Regions from separate parts of the Homo sapiens genome. Here region 2 is linked to region 1. Evidence: promoter capture Hi-C in human tissues and cell types (Jung and others, 2019). All regions are on one chromosome and are shown on one strand. Each heading gives the region's core, a stretch centred on a gene start or on the middle of the fragment in contact. The rest is flanking DNA. Distances are from core to core; before and after follow the strand shown. Region 1 holds the start of IL17C (interleukin 17C). Region 2 has its middle 15 kb from the start of ZC3H18-DT.

The links. The method cuts DNA at HindIII sites, captures the fragments that hold promoters and counts their contacts. A contact is called where the count stands out against the background at its distance.
Region 2: a fragment that was not itself captured here is called in contact with the fragment with the promoter of IL17C in region 1 in 2 of the 25 tissues and cell types used here (mesendoderm cells and thymus).

What each region holds. Positions count from the first base shown.
Region 1 is chr16:88,636,204-88,642,338 of GRCh38, forward strand. It overlaps IL17C (interleukin 17C), which reads left to right and starts at 2,369. Exons shown (of 3, transcript NM_013278.4): 1 at 2,369-2,444; 2 at 2,778-3,106; 3 at 3,611-4,265. The coding sequence starts at 2,439. The coding sequence ends at 3,869. LOC124903755 (a long non-coding RNA gene) reads left to right here. Exons shown (of 2, transcript XR_007065181.1): 1 at 1-509; 2 at 597-1,231. RefSeq lists an enhancer at 4,414-5,241. The HindIII fragment of the contact is 16,303 bases long and covers 1-6,135 here.
Region 2 is chr16:88,544,302-88,550,379 of GRCh38, forward strand. No RefSeq gene overlaps it. Among named protein-coding and RNA genes, the nearest start is that of ZC3H18-DT, 15 kb to the right of the region's middle. The HindIII fragment of the contact is 5,396 bases long and covers 1,800-6,078 here.

The DNA.
Region 1 (6,135 bases), core at 1,119-3,618:
GAGGCCTGTATCAGCCCAGCCTAAGGCAGGGCCAACCCACACAGGAGCACCTGTCCTGCTGGGGATGCAGTGGGTTCTGCTGTGTCCTGGAAAAGGCTCTACCCACACCCTAACCCAACCTGTGAACGCGCGCTCATTTGGAAAAGGGGCTTTTGCTTTGATGTAATTAGGGAAAGGATCTTGAGATGGCTCATCCTGGGTTAAGGCAGGTCCCACGTCCTGAGAAGGGGGGAGGGATTATCTTTTAGACTGGGCCCTACATCCAACAACCAGTGTCCTTATAAACCACAGAAGAGGAAAAGGCGGGTGCAGCAGAGAGGCCACGGGAGGAGCCGCCAGCCCGGGAAACTGAGGGCTGGAAGAGCCTCCAGGAGGACCCAGCCCTGAACACGCCCAGCTCCACGGCCTCGTGGAATAAACTTCTCCCATTTCACACCCCCCAGTTTGTGGTGCATGGTTAGCACAGCCCTAGGAAACCAGCACGGATAGTGAGCTCCCCGTCACAGGAGGTATGCAAGCAGAGGGTGGGTGGGCAGGGGCACTGTCGGGAGGAGCAGCCCTGGGGACTCCAGCAATCTGTCTTTGATTCCTCCCAGACTGTTAACCCTGGGGCACAGCCTCCTTCACCCCCAGAGGCCCACAGCAGACAAGCTGAGAGCCACACAGCGGCCAAGAGGAGGTGCTGGAGGGCCCAGGGGTCCCAGTGCTGCCTCAGCCCCACCCGACTTGGGAGCTTTTGTGTTCAGAGAGACTGAGGTTTTCAGCTTAGAGGACACCTCCGTGGAACACATCTGCACCGCGGCAGGGGAGGAAAGGCTGGGGGCACACAAGCACCCTCCCTCCCGCCCTCACCCCGAAGCTGAGGGGACCAGGGCGGACAGATTCCCCCACCTCTGATGTGGCCAGGGGCCCTGGGGACTCCAGGACAACCCTCCTCAGGATGACGTCAAACCCCCGGCATTCAAACCTTCCCAAGTTCTGGCTGCAGCTGTCCCTTTCCGGGGAAACAAAGGCACCTCCAGCGCCCCCACCCCCAGCCAGCCTCACCGATCAAGGAGGCCAAAGGCAGCTCCCGGCCCCGCTTACATAAAGCTTCCTGTGTGTGCTGGTCACACCTCACACCTCACGCCTCACGCCTCATGCCTCATTCACACCTCACACCTCACTCCTCACACCTCCAACTCAGACTTTTTAGCTTGAACTTTTTTCTCAATAAAACCACAGAAGCCCAGGCCGGGTGCAGTGACTCATGCCTGTGATCCCAGCACTTTGCGAGGCCGAGGTGGGCAGATCACGAGGTCAGGAGATCGAGACCATCCTGGCTAACATGGTGAAACCCCGTCTCTACTAAAAATACAAAAAAATTAGCCAGGTGTGGTGGCGGGCGCCTGTAGTCCCAGCTACCCGGCAGGCTGAGGCAGGAGAATGGCGTGAACCCAGGAAGCTGAGCTTGTAGTGAGCCGAGATCGCACCACTGTACTCCCCGCCTGGGCGACAGAGTCAGACTCCGCCTCAAAAAAACAACAAAAAAAAAAACAACACAGAAACCCAACAGAGACCTGAAGACGTGCCTGCCTCCCCCATCTCCGGGACCTCTCCCACCTGGGTGAAGGGGGCACGTGAGCCTCACCTGATCTTGACCATCTCAGCTAAAACACTGAACCACCCTTGGCACCCACCAGCAGCAGACGGAGAAGAACTGTATAGGGTGCAAAAGCGCCCCGCCACCATCAGGTCCAGATGAAAACCTACAAGTTGAATCAGCAAGGTGCTGACGGATACGCAAGCAGAAACCCTCTTATAGGAGGTTCAAGGCTGGGCGCAGTGGCTCACTCCTGTAATCCCAGCACTTTGGGAGGCCAAGGCGAGCAGATCACTTGAGGTCAGGAGCCTCAGACCAGCCTGGCCGATATGGCAAAACCCTGTCTGTACTAAAAATACAAAAATTAGCCAGGCATGGTGGGGGGTGCCTGTAATCCCAGCTACTCGGAAGCCTGAGGCAGGAGAATCGCTTGAACCTGGGATGTGGAGGTTGCAGTGAGCTGGGACAGCACCATTTCCCTCCAGCTCGGGTGACAGCAAGACCCTGTCTCAAAAAAAAAAAAAAAGTTTGAGAATGTCAGACAAGGCAGCACCCTGTGTAGGTGCTCAGGTTGGGCGGAGTCTCTCTCGGGGGAGGGGGGTAACAGGACAGCGCCTCCCGGGGCCTCCTTGCATGTCTGTGTCCTGATGCACAGCAGGCGGGGGCTGCGGGGACCAGAGAAGGAAGAAGCGCCCCAGCTGGGCACTTCCCGAGGAGGAAGTGGTGCCGGAATTTCCCCCAGGTGTGGCCTCAGGTATAAGAGCGGCTGCTGCCAGGTGCATGGCCAGGTGCACCTGTGGGATTGCCGCCAGGTGTGCAGGCCGCTCCAAGCCCAGCCTGCCCCGCTGCCGCCACCATGACGGTGAGCCTCTCCACATGCCGCTCGGATGGATGCTGCTTGGATGTGCAGCCTGGCATGGAAGGGCTGGGGTTCTCTGAGCCTGGGAGGAGGGTGTTGGGATGGGGTCTGGGAAACCCCTCAGTCTGGGGGTAGGGGAGGCAGCTGCAGATCCTCGGAGCGCTGGCATGCTGGGTGTCTTGGGCTGAAGGGCTAGCCTCTCTGGGCTTCAGTTTCCCCATCTATAGAGGGAGGGCTGTACTCCATCTTTCCGCTGGGAACAAGGAAAGCTGAGGTGGAAGTGAGGTGCCCCCTGCCCTGGGCACCTCCTAACCACCCACCTGCCTGTTTCACCAGCTCCTCCCCGGCCTCCTGTTTCTGACCTGGCTGCACACATGCCTGGCCCACCATGACCCCTCCCTCAGGGGGCACCCCCACAGTCACGGTACCCCACACTGCTACTCGGCTGAGGAACTGCCCCTCGGCCAGGCCCCCCCACACCTGCTGGCTCGAGGTGCCAAGTGGGGGCAGGCTTTGCCTGTAGCCCTGGTGTCCAGCCTGGAGGCAGCAAGCCACAGGGGGAGGCACGAGAGGCCCTCAGCTACGACCCAGTGCCCGGTGCTGCGGCCGGAGGAGGTGTTGGAGGCAGACACCCACCAGCGCTCCATCTCACCCTGGAGATACCGGTGAGGACCTGGGGATTCCGCTGTGGCGTGGGGCTGCCCCTCCCCTGGCGGGGCCCTGACTGCCCGGAGAGCTCTCTGGGCCTTGGTGGTTCTCACCTGTCAAGTGGGCGTGGCCACCTGAGCTCCCTCCCTCCGGCCCTCCTGACCTGGACGGCTGAGCTGCTGCTTGCGGCTGGCCGTGCCCTGCCTCCCACTGTCCTAGGTGGCCAGGGTCCCCTGGGGAAATTCTGGGCCCGTCACCTGAGCTCCTGCAGAAGTGGGGCTGGGTGATGAAGTGGAAGGGAGGCTCCTAGAGGCCTCCGGACCCTGCTCTGTGCTCTTGGAGGGCCCTGGGGAGACGTGGATTACCACCACATGTGAGCCCGACTGCACCCCAAGCCCGTGTGGCTCAGCCCTCGCTGCCTCAGGTCCTATCCTGAGTACACGGAGAGGGGCCCTGAGGGGAGAGGGGCCTCCAGGAGGACAGGGTAGGGCCAGAGACTCACTGTGCACCCCGTCCCGCAGTGTGGACACGGATGAGGACCGCTATCCACAGAAGCTGGCCTTCGCCGAGTGCCTGTGCAGAGGCTGTATCGATGCACGGACGGGCCGCGAGACAGCTGCGCTCAACTCCGTGCGGCTGCTCCAGAGCCTGCTGGTGCTGCGCCGCCGGCCCTGCTCCCGCGACGGCTCGGGGCTCCCCACACCTGGGGCCTTTGCCTTCCACACCGAGTTCATCCACGTCCCCGTCGGCTGCACCTGCGTGCTGCCCCGTTCAGTGTGACCGCCGAGGCCGTGGGGCCCCTAGACTGGACACGTGTGCTCCCCAGAGGGCACCCCCTATTTATGTGTATTTATTGTTATTTATATGCCTCCCCCAACACTACCCTTGGGGTCTGGGCATTCCCCGTGTCTGGAGGACAGCCCCCCACTGTTCTCCTCATCTCCAGCCTCAGTAGTTGGGGGTAGAAGGAGCTCAGCACCTCTTCCAGCCCTTAAAGCTGCAGAAAAGGTGTCACACGGCTGCCTGTACCTTGGCTCCCTGTCCTGCTCCCGGCTTCCCTTACCCTATCACTGGCCTCAGGCCCCCGCAGGCTGCCTCTTCCCAACCTCCTTGGAAGTACCCCTGTTTCTTAAACAATTATTTAAGTGTACGTGTATTATTAAACTGATGAACACATCCCCAGAGGCCAACATTCAATGCGACATTCTCCCGTTCAGCCCTGGTCCAGGCCAGCCATGGACCCAATTCTGGGGTGTCCTTCCAGAAAGGTCTACGCAGCCGCGAGCAGTGCATGCAGGTGGGACTGAGCTGTAGCACGGGGGGGTCACAGGTGTCCCTGCTCTGCCCACACAGTGTCTCCCCTGAGGACACCCCTGGGAACAGGAACCAGCCTCCTTCCTCAAGCAGTGCCTTGAGCCCTATGCTTTGTAATGATGTGAGCGCCTAGGGGCACCCTCTCGGCCCCCAAGGCAAGTCTCTGAGGATGAACTGCAGGGCTGTCGGCTCAAGGCAGGGCCCCCAGCCTTCGTGGTTCGGATCAACATCCAAGGCCAAGCGCCCTCCCTGATGGTGAACTAGCCACGCTTCGGGACCCAGGCTCTGTTGGAGATTTTAGTTAAGGGGCCCCGGGGGGAGCAGCCCCAGTCGTGGAAAGGGGGCCCAGGCCTGTGACAGTCTCAGGGTCTCAGTCTCTAGGCCCCCGGCCCCAAGGGCTGACATTGCCATGGGGCTGCTGGGCAGTTGTTAGCCCCTCCCCTGCCTGGCCCCCTGGCTCACCCACCTACTGCGTCCAGGTGCCTGGAGATGGGGGTGGGGGTGCTGCACAGAAGAACAAGGACTCCACTCAGACTCCCAAAGCAAGAGGCCTCAGGGAAGACTTCCTGGAGGTGGTGGCCCTTGTCCAGGAGATGGAATTTTCATTCAACACATTTATTGAGTTTCTTTTCTTTCTTGAAAAAGGGTCTCGCTCTGTTGCCCAGGCTGGAGTGCAGTGTGGTATGACTTCAGCTCACTGCCACCCCCACCTTCTGAGTTCAAGCGATCCTCCCAGCTCAGCTTCCCAGTACAGGCGTGCACCACCACACCCAACTCATATTTGTATTTTTAGTGGAGGCGGGGTTTCGCCATGTTGGCCAGGTTGGTCTCGAACTCCTGAGCTCAAGTGATCCTCCCACCTCGGCCTCCCAGAGTGCTGGGATTACAGGCGTGAGCCACCGCACCCAGCCATATGAGTTTCTACTAAGCACCTGGCACTGGGAACAGGCCGAGAACAAAATGGTGAAAACCCTTCCTGCCTCCACGGTGACTAATGAAACAAGTGGTGTGTAGTCTGTGAGTGAGTCCAGGACAGAGGCTCTGGGGGAGGGGCTGCAGTTCTTTTTTTTTTTTTTGAGGAGTCTCGCTCTGGCCCAGGCTGGAGTGCAATGGTGCGATCTCGGCTCACTGCAAGCTCCGCCTCCCGGGTTCACACCATTCTCCTGCCTCAGCCTCCTGAGTAGCTGGGACTACAGGCGCCCGCCACCACGCCCGGCTAATTTTTTGTATTTTTAGTAGAGACGGGGTTTCACCGTGTTAGCCAGGATGGTCTCGATCTCCTGACCTCATGATCTGCCCGCCTCGGCCTCCCAAAGTGCTGGGATTACAGGCGTGAGCCACCGCGCCCGGCCAAGGGGCTGCAGTTCTAAGCAGAGGGTCAGGGAGGCCTCGAAGACCTGAAGGGGAGGAGGAAGGAGCCAGGCAGCCATGCAGGGAACAGCTCCAGGCAGCAGGAAGAGCCCATGCAAAGGCCCTGAGAAGACACATGCTGCGTGTGTCCAAGGGTCAGAGAGTGGCCTGCGTGGCTGATGCCAGGTGAGAGGGGGACCGCAGGGGCAGGGCAGGGCGCTGGGGGTGCAGATCATGTCTGCCCTGGGGCCATCAGAAGCTTGTGGCTGTCACTGGAGGTAGCTGAGCCTGTGGGTTCTGAGCCTGCGGATTCTGAGCCGGAGGCACTGGGGTGAGGCTTTGGGTTTCAATGGCAGCATCAGGATGGTTTCAGGGGATGAGG
Region 2 (6,078 bases), core at 3,248-5,747, 90 kb before region 1:
CACTTGTGGTTTCAGGCAGGTAGCCTTGGCGAGTTTGTTCATACCTCATGATCATTGGAGCTGAGATTTGCAAACTGCTCAGTGCAGCCCTGACTCCCTGTGAGTCAAAAGCCACTTCTCACCTCACCAGGAGCTGTGGTGTTTGTTGGGTGTCAATGTACGACTTTAGTTGTTGTTGTTTTAAAGTTCTACTGTGTGTTTTTTTAAAGGACCAGTGAAATTTGAAAATAGCCAAGGAAAAGAAAACTGGTTCCCACAATCACAGACACCACCATGGAACACACCAAGGCAATTTCTTCATTATAAAAATTTTATTATGAAGAGACAGGGGCCGGACGGGGTGGCTCACGCCTGTAATCCCAGTACTTTGGGAGGCCAAGATGGGTGGATCAAGAGGTCAGGAGATTGAGACCATCCTGGCTAACACGGTGAAACACCATCTCTACTAAAAAAATACAAAAAATTAGCCAGGCGTGGTGGTGGGCGCCTGTAGTCCCAGCTATTCGGGAGGCTGAGGCAGGAGAATGGCGTGAACCCGGGAAGCGGAGATTGTGGTGAGCGGAGATCGCGCCACTGACTCCAGCCTGGGTGACAGAGCGAGACTCTGTCTCAAAAATAAATAAATAAATAGATAAAATAAGAGACAGGGTCTCACTATATTGCCCAGGCTGGTCTGTGAACCGCTGTGCTCGATTGGTCCTCCTGCCTCAGCCTCCCAAAGTGCTTGGATCACAGGCATGAGTCGCCGCACCTGGCCAACACGGGGGCAGTTTTTGATGCAATGTCTGCAGTGGCTGGAGGGAGCTGGGCTCCTGCTCACATCATGCTTTGTGCTTCGGTTGCTCCCACTTCAGGGCTGCACTCACCCTCCCTCAGCAAACCTCAGACTTGGAAGAGGCTACCATGAGGGTGTGTGGCTTGGTTTAGACCTTGTTGACAAAGAAGTCAGTTAATCCCAAGTTCAGTAACTAATAAACATCAGCACATGGTAACACACAGTCTAACTACTAGTTTTTTTGTTTTTTTTTGTTTTTGGGTTTTTTTTTGAGACGGAGTCTTGCTCTGTCGCCCAGGCTGGAGTGCAGTGGCTCCATCTTGGCTCACTGCAACCTCCGCCTCCCAGGTTCAAGCGATTCTCCAGCCTCAGCCTCCTGAGTAGCTGGGATTATGGGCCTGGGCCACCACGTCTGGCTCTGTGAGTCAGCACAGGGAATCTTACCATGGACGCTGCCGGGAGATGCAGGGCCACTCAGGTGTGCACGTACACTGGATTCAAATACAGGCAGCAGACATAGACAACGATGCCGGGAGAGGGGCGGCTGGCAGAAGAATGGCCCCAAAGATGCCTGTGTTTTCATCCCCAGGGGGAGCCTGTGAAGGCGCAGCCTCATGCAGCAGAGGGGAGTTAAGGCTGCAGGGGAAGTTGAGGTTGCTCATCAGCTGACCCAAGATACAGAGATTACCCTGGATCATCCTGGTGGGCACAGCATAATCACAAAGTTCTTATCAGTGGAAGAGGGGTCAGGAAGAATACCAGAGAGGTGGGATGGGAGGACTCAATGGGCTTTGAAGATGGGGGGGGTGCCATGAGCCAAGGAACGGGGAGGCTTCCAGAATAAGCAGCTGGTTCTCCTCAGGAGCTCCCAGCTGGGGCCAGCCCTGCTCACGCCTGGACCTCAGCCAGTGAGACCCGCTTCAGTGAGCCCCACTGGCTCCTGAAGGCTGCTGCACCTGACTCAGGATAGCTGGGACTTGGAGTAGGGTGGGACACAGGGCACAGAGGGCCGGCCAGGGCTGCAAAAAGATCCCGGTGGCACCTCATGAGCTGGGGACAGGGGTCCTGTGCCCGACCATCTTGCGTCTCTTTTTGTTTCTACCTTTGCAATAATAATAATACAAGTAAAGTCAGATAGAAGTTCAGGAAGCATGCACATGGGATGCTCCAGTCTCCAGCCAGCACGAGGAAATCATCACTCTCCAATCAAAGGCAGAGGGCGAACAATGGCGCCATCACGGTGCACTGCAGCCTCAACCTCCTGAGCTCAAGGGGTCCTCCCACCTCAGCCTCCTAGGTGCTGAGGACCACAGGCGTGCAGCACCATTCCCAGCTATTTTTTTTTACTTTTTGTAGAGATGGCATCTCACTATGTTGCCCAGTCTGGTATCCACCTCCTTACTTAAGCAATCTTCCTTCCTCAGCCTCTCAAAGTGCTGGGATTACAGGCATAAGCCACCGCACCCAGGCCCGAGGTTGAGCTTTTGAGTGGCTGTCACCCTACTTTCCACAACAGTCACACCGATTGCTGTTCCCATCAGCAGTGCATGCCAGGCCTCCACATCCCACCAACACATGCTGCAGCACTGTCTGACTTCAGCATCTGAATGCATGAGAAGCGGAGTCTCACTGGGGCTGTAATCTGCATTCTCCAGTGACCGGCAGTGCCACGCAGCATCCCCCTGCTCACTGGCCACTGTATGTCTATGGAGAAACATCTGTCCAGACCCATCGCCCATCTCTGCACCTTTCTGCTCATTTCTAAGGTGAGAAAACAGAGGGTGGACAAGGTGAGGGAAGAGAGGGTGGAGAAGGCGAGGGGACAGAGGGTGGGGAAGGTGAGGGGACAGAGGGTGGAGAAGGTGAGGGGACAGAGGGTGGAGAAGGTGAGGGGACAGAGGGTGGGGAAGGTGAGGGGACAGAGGGTGGAGAAGGTGAGGGGACAGAGGGTGGGGAAGGTGAGGGGACAGAGGGTGGAGAAGGTGAGGGGACAGAGGGTGGAGAAGGTGAGGGGACAGAGGGTGGGGAAGGCGAGGGGACAGAGGGTGGGGAAGGCGAGGGGACAGAGGGTGGGGAAGGCGAGGGGACAGAGGGTGGGGAAGGCGAGGGGACAGAGGGTGGGGAAGGCGAGGGGACAGAGGGTGGGGAAGGCGAGGGGACAGAGGGTGGGGAAGGCGAGGGGACAGAGGGTGGGGAAGGCGAGGGGACAGAGGGTGGGGAAGGCGAGGGGACAGAGGGTGGGGAAGGCGAGGAGAGGGTGGGGAAGGCGAGGGGACAGAGGGTGGGGAAGGCGAGGGGACAGAGGGTGGGGAAGGCGAGGGGACAGAGGGTGGGGAAGGTGACCGGACAGAGGGTGGGGAAGGTGCGGGGACAGAGGGTGGGGAAGGTGCGGGGACAGAGGGTGGGGAAGGTGAGGAGACAGAGGGTGGGGAAGGTGCGGGGACAGAGGGTGGGGAAGGTGACTGGACAGAGGGTGGGGAAGGTGACGGGACAGAGGGTGGGGAAGGCGAGGGGACAGAGGGTGGGGAAGGTGACCGGACAGAGGGTGGGGAAGGCGAGGGGACAGAGGGTGGGGAAGGCGAGGGGACAGAGGGTGGGGAAGGCGAGGGGACAGAGGGTGGGGAAGGCGAGGGGACAGAGGGTGGGGAAGGCGAGGGGACAGAGGGTGGGGAAGGCGAGGGGACAGAGGGTGGGGAAGGCGAGGGGACAGAGGGTGGGGAAGGCGACGGGACAGAGGGTGGGGAAGGCGACGGGACAGAGGGTGGGGAAGGTGAGGGGACAGAGGGTGGGGAAGGTGAGGGAACAGAGGGTGACAACCATCCAAGTGTGAAACTCATGGGTATGTGCTTGGGCTGCAGACACCCTGGCCTCACCCCACCTTGGCCCTTTTGATCCATGAGACTGCACAGTTCCCCTCCTGGACCCTTGGTTCCCCCCACACCCAGGAGGCATAGAACAGGCAGGACATCCTGTGGCCAGAAAGATGATCGGGGGTCTCCAGGGCACGGAGCCCCCACCCACACACTACAGTAGGGATTGACAGCAGCCTGACCGCCACTGCCCTTTCCCCTGTAAGGTGGGGTTCCCAGTGGATGGCCAGAGGGTCCCACCCCAGTGGCTCCAATCCCCACCCTCCACGTCAGCACCAGCCAGGTGGTCACCGTCAATGACCCTGTCACCCTCCCGGGGGAAGGGGCTTCCAGGCCCACAGCCCTGGCAGGTTCATGTGGGGCACTGGCCCTCTTCCTGCCCCACCCACCAGCCCTGTGGTCTGGGCGCCTGGCTCACACCTCCCTTCCTCCCACACGCACCAGCCACAGGCTCCAGGGTCTCAGAGGAACTCCTGGGACATCCCTTTATCTGGCACCAAAGCCCGGGGCAGGGCCTGCATGTTGACCGACTGCCTTCTCTGCTCTGGCTGGGCTGAATAGCTGGGCCCAGCTCCCTCCCGGGGACTCTTCCCCCAGCCAGGGTTCACCTGAAGGCACCAGTGAGGCAGCGCCACCCCGAACAGGGGTCCCCAGACTTTGGAAAAATCACAAACCAGAAAACTGTCGACAATCACTTCCGGGTTAGCATAGGACTCTAACCTTATGTTTTTTCCAGATACTGACATTAATTTTTTTAACTATTGCTCAATAGTCTCAATATCTCATAAAAGCACCTTTTAGCACCAAATACAGTAGGATAGCACAATCTCTGCACAAAAAGCCTTTTACACGAAAGTATTATTTTTTTTAATAGAGACGAGTTCTCCCTATGTTGCCCAAGCTGCTCTCAAACTCCTGGGCTCAAGCGATCCACCTGCCTTGGCCTCCCGAAGTGCTGGGATTACAGGCGTGAGCCACCGCGCCCGGCCCACATGAATGATTTATTCCACTTGGCGCTCCTTTTCCTCGTTTCACTGTACATCGATGAAGACATTGGCACCAACGCACAGGTCCATGGATCAGAGTTGAGGAAAGTCTGTTCCAATCTTAACCCTTTTGGTGCTGGCTTTGTTTTACTGAAGACGAAACAGAGGGTCCAAGTGGTTACATCCCGAGCGCCGGCAGTGGCTGCACGAGGCAGGACTGCCTCCAGCTCTAACTGTACTGCACCTGCACCCACCAGCCAGGGTCCGCCGCTTTCAGCCGGAATCCATAGACAATTCACACGGCAAAGAGAGGAGACCAAGCTTGGGTTTCAAAATGAGCTGAAATATCAAAGCAGAATAAAGTCACTTCTTTAAACGTGGGGCCATTTCAGAGTTAATTTCACAAAAGGAGACATCGTGTTGCTTCAAACTGCTGTGCAAACATCAGAGTGACTCGTTATCTAAGTCTCAGTCAGAAACACTGGCAGTCACTTCTGATCTGCGTTAGATTGTAAGTCATTTGTTCTCCTCTAAATAGCAACAAGAGGCCGGGCATGGTGGTTCATGCCTGTAATCCCAACACTTTGGGAGGCCGAGGCAGGTGGATCACAAGGTCAAGAGATCAAGACCATGCTGGCCAACATGGTGAAGCCCTGTCTCTACTAAAAATACAAAAATTAGCCGGGTGTGGTGATGCGCACCCATAATACCAGCTACACGGGAAGCTGAGGCAGAAGAATCACTTAAACCTGGGAGGCAGAGGTTGCAGTGAACCGAGATCACGCCACTGCACTCCAGCCTGGGGACAGAGCGAAACTCCATCTCAAAAAAAAAAGAAAAAAAGAAAAGAAACTCTGAAGTCAGTCTGAAGCCTGGGAGGGACAAAGGTGTTTTGCAGGTTCCTGCAGCTCAGGCACCCAGCGGGGGCTCACTTGAGAGGGTTAAGAGGGTGAGTGCCTGGGAGGAGCCTTCAATCAAAACTTAGCTGTAGCTGAGTCCAACTGTGTGGTACCTCCCCAGCACAGCCCTCTGACCTGGGAACAGGCCCAGAGAACACAGAGGGAGTGAAGGTTGGTTATCTCCCCCTGAGGTCTGCGCTCCTACCCCTGGCTCCTGATCCGAGCCCTTGCTGTCAGAGAAGACAGGAACCTCACACTTCCTGAACACGCGCAATGCCCCTACCAAAACACGGGAGCTGCAGGCGGGCCTTTGGTCTTCTTCTGCTCCGTGCCCATTGCCATCTTCCAGAAGACACACATCATGCCTGTTCTCTCCTTCCACGCCAGGCCAGGGGAGAGGGTGGCCCCCACCCCAACCCCAACTCTGCTCCAACCGAAGGAGCCTCCTCCTGTGTGCACCCCCGTCCCCAGCACGGCGCAGCTCTACCACCAAACAGACAAAGCACAGCCAGCTCTGATTGACCCAGGGAGGCCGGGGACCTTGCCCT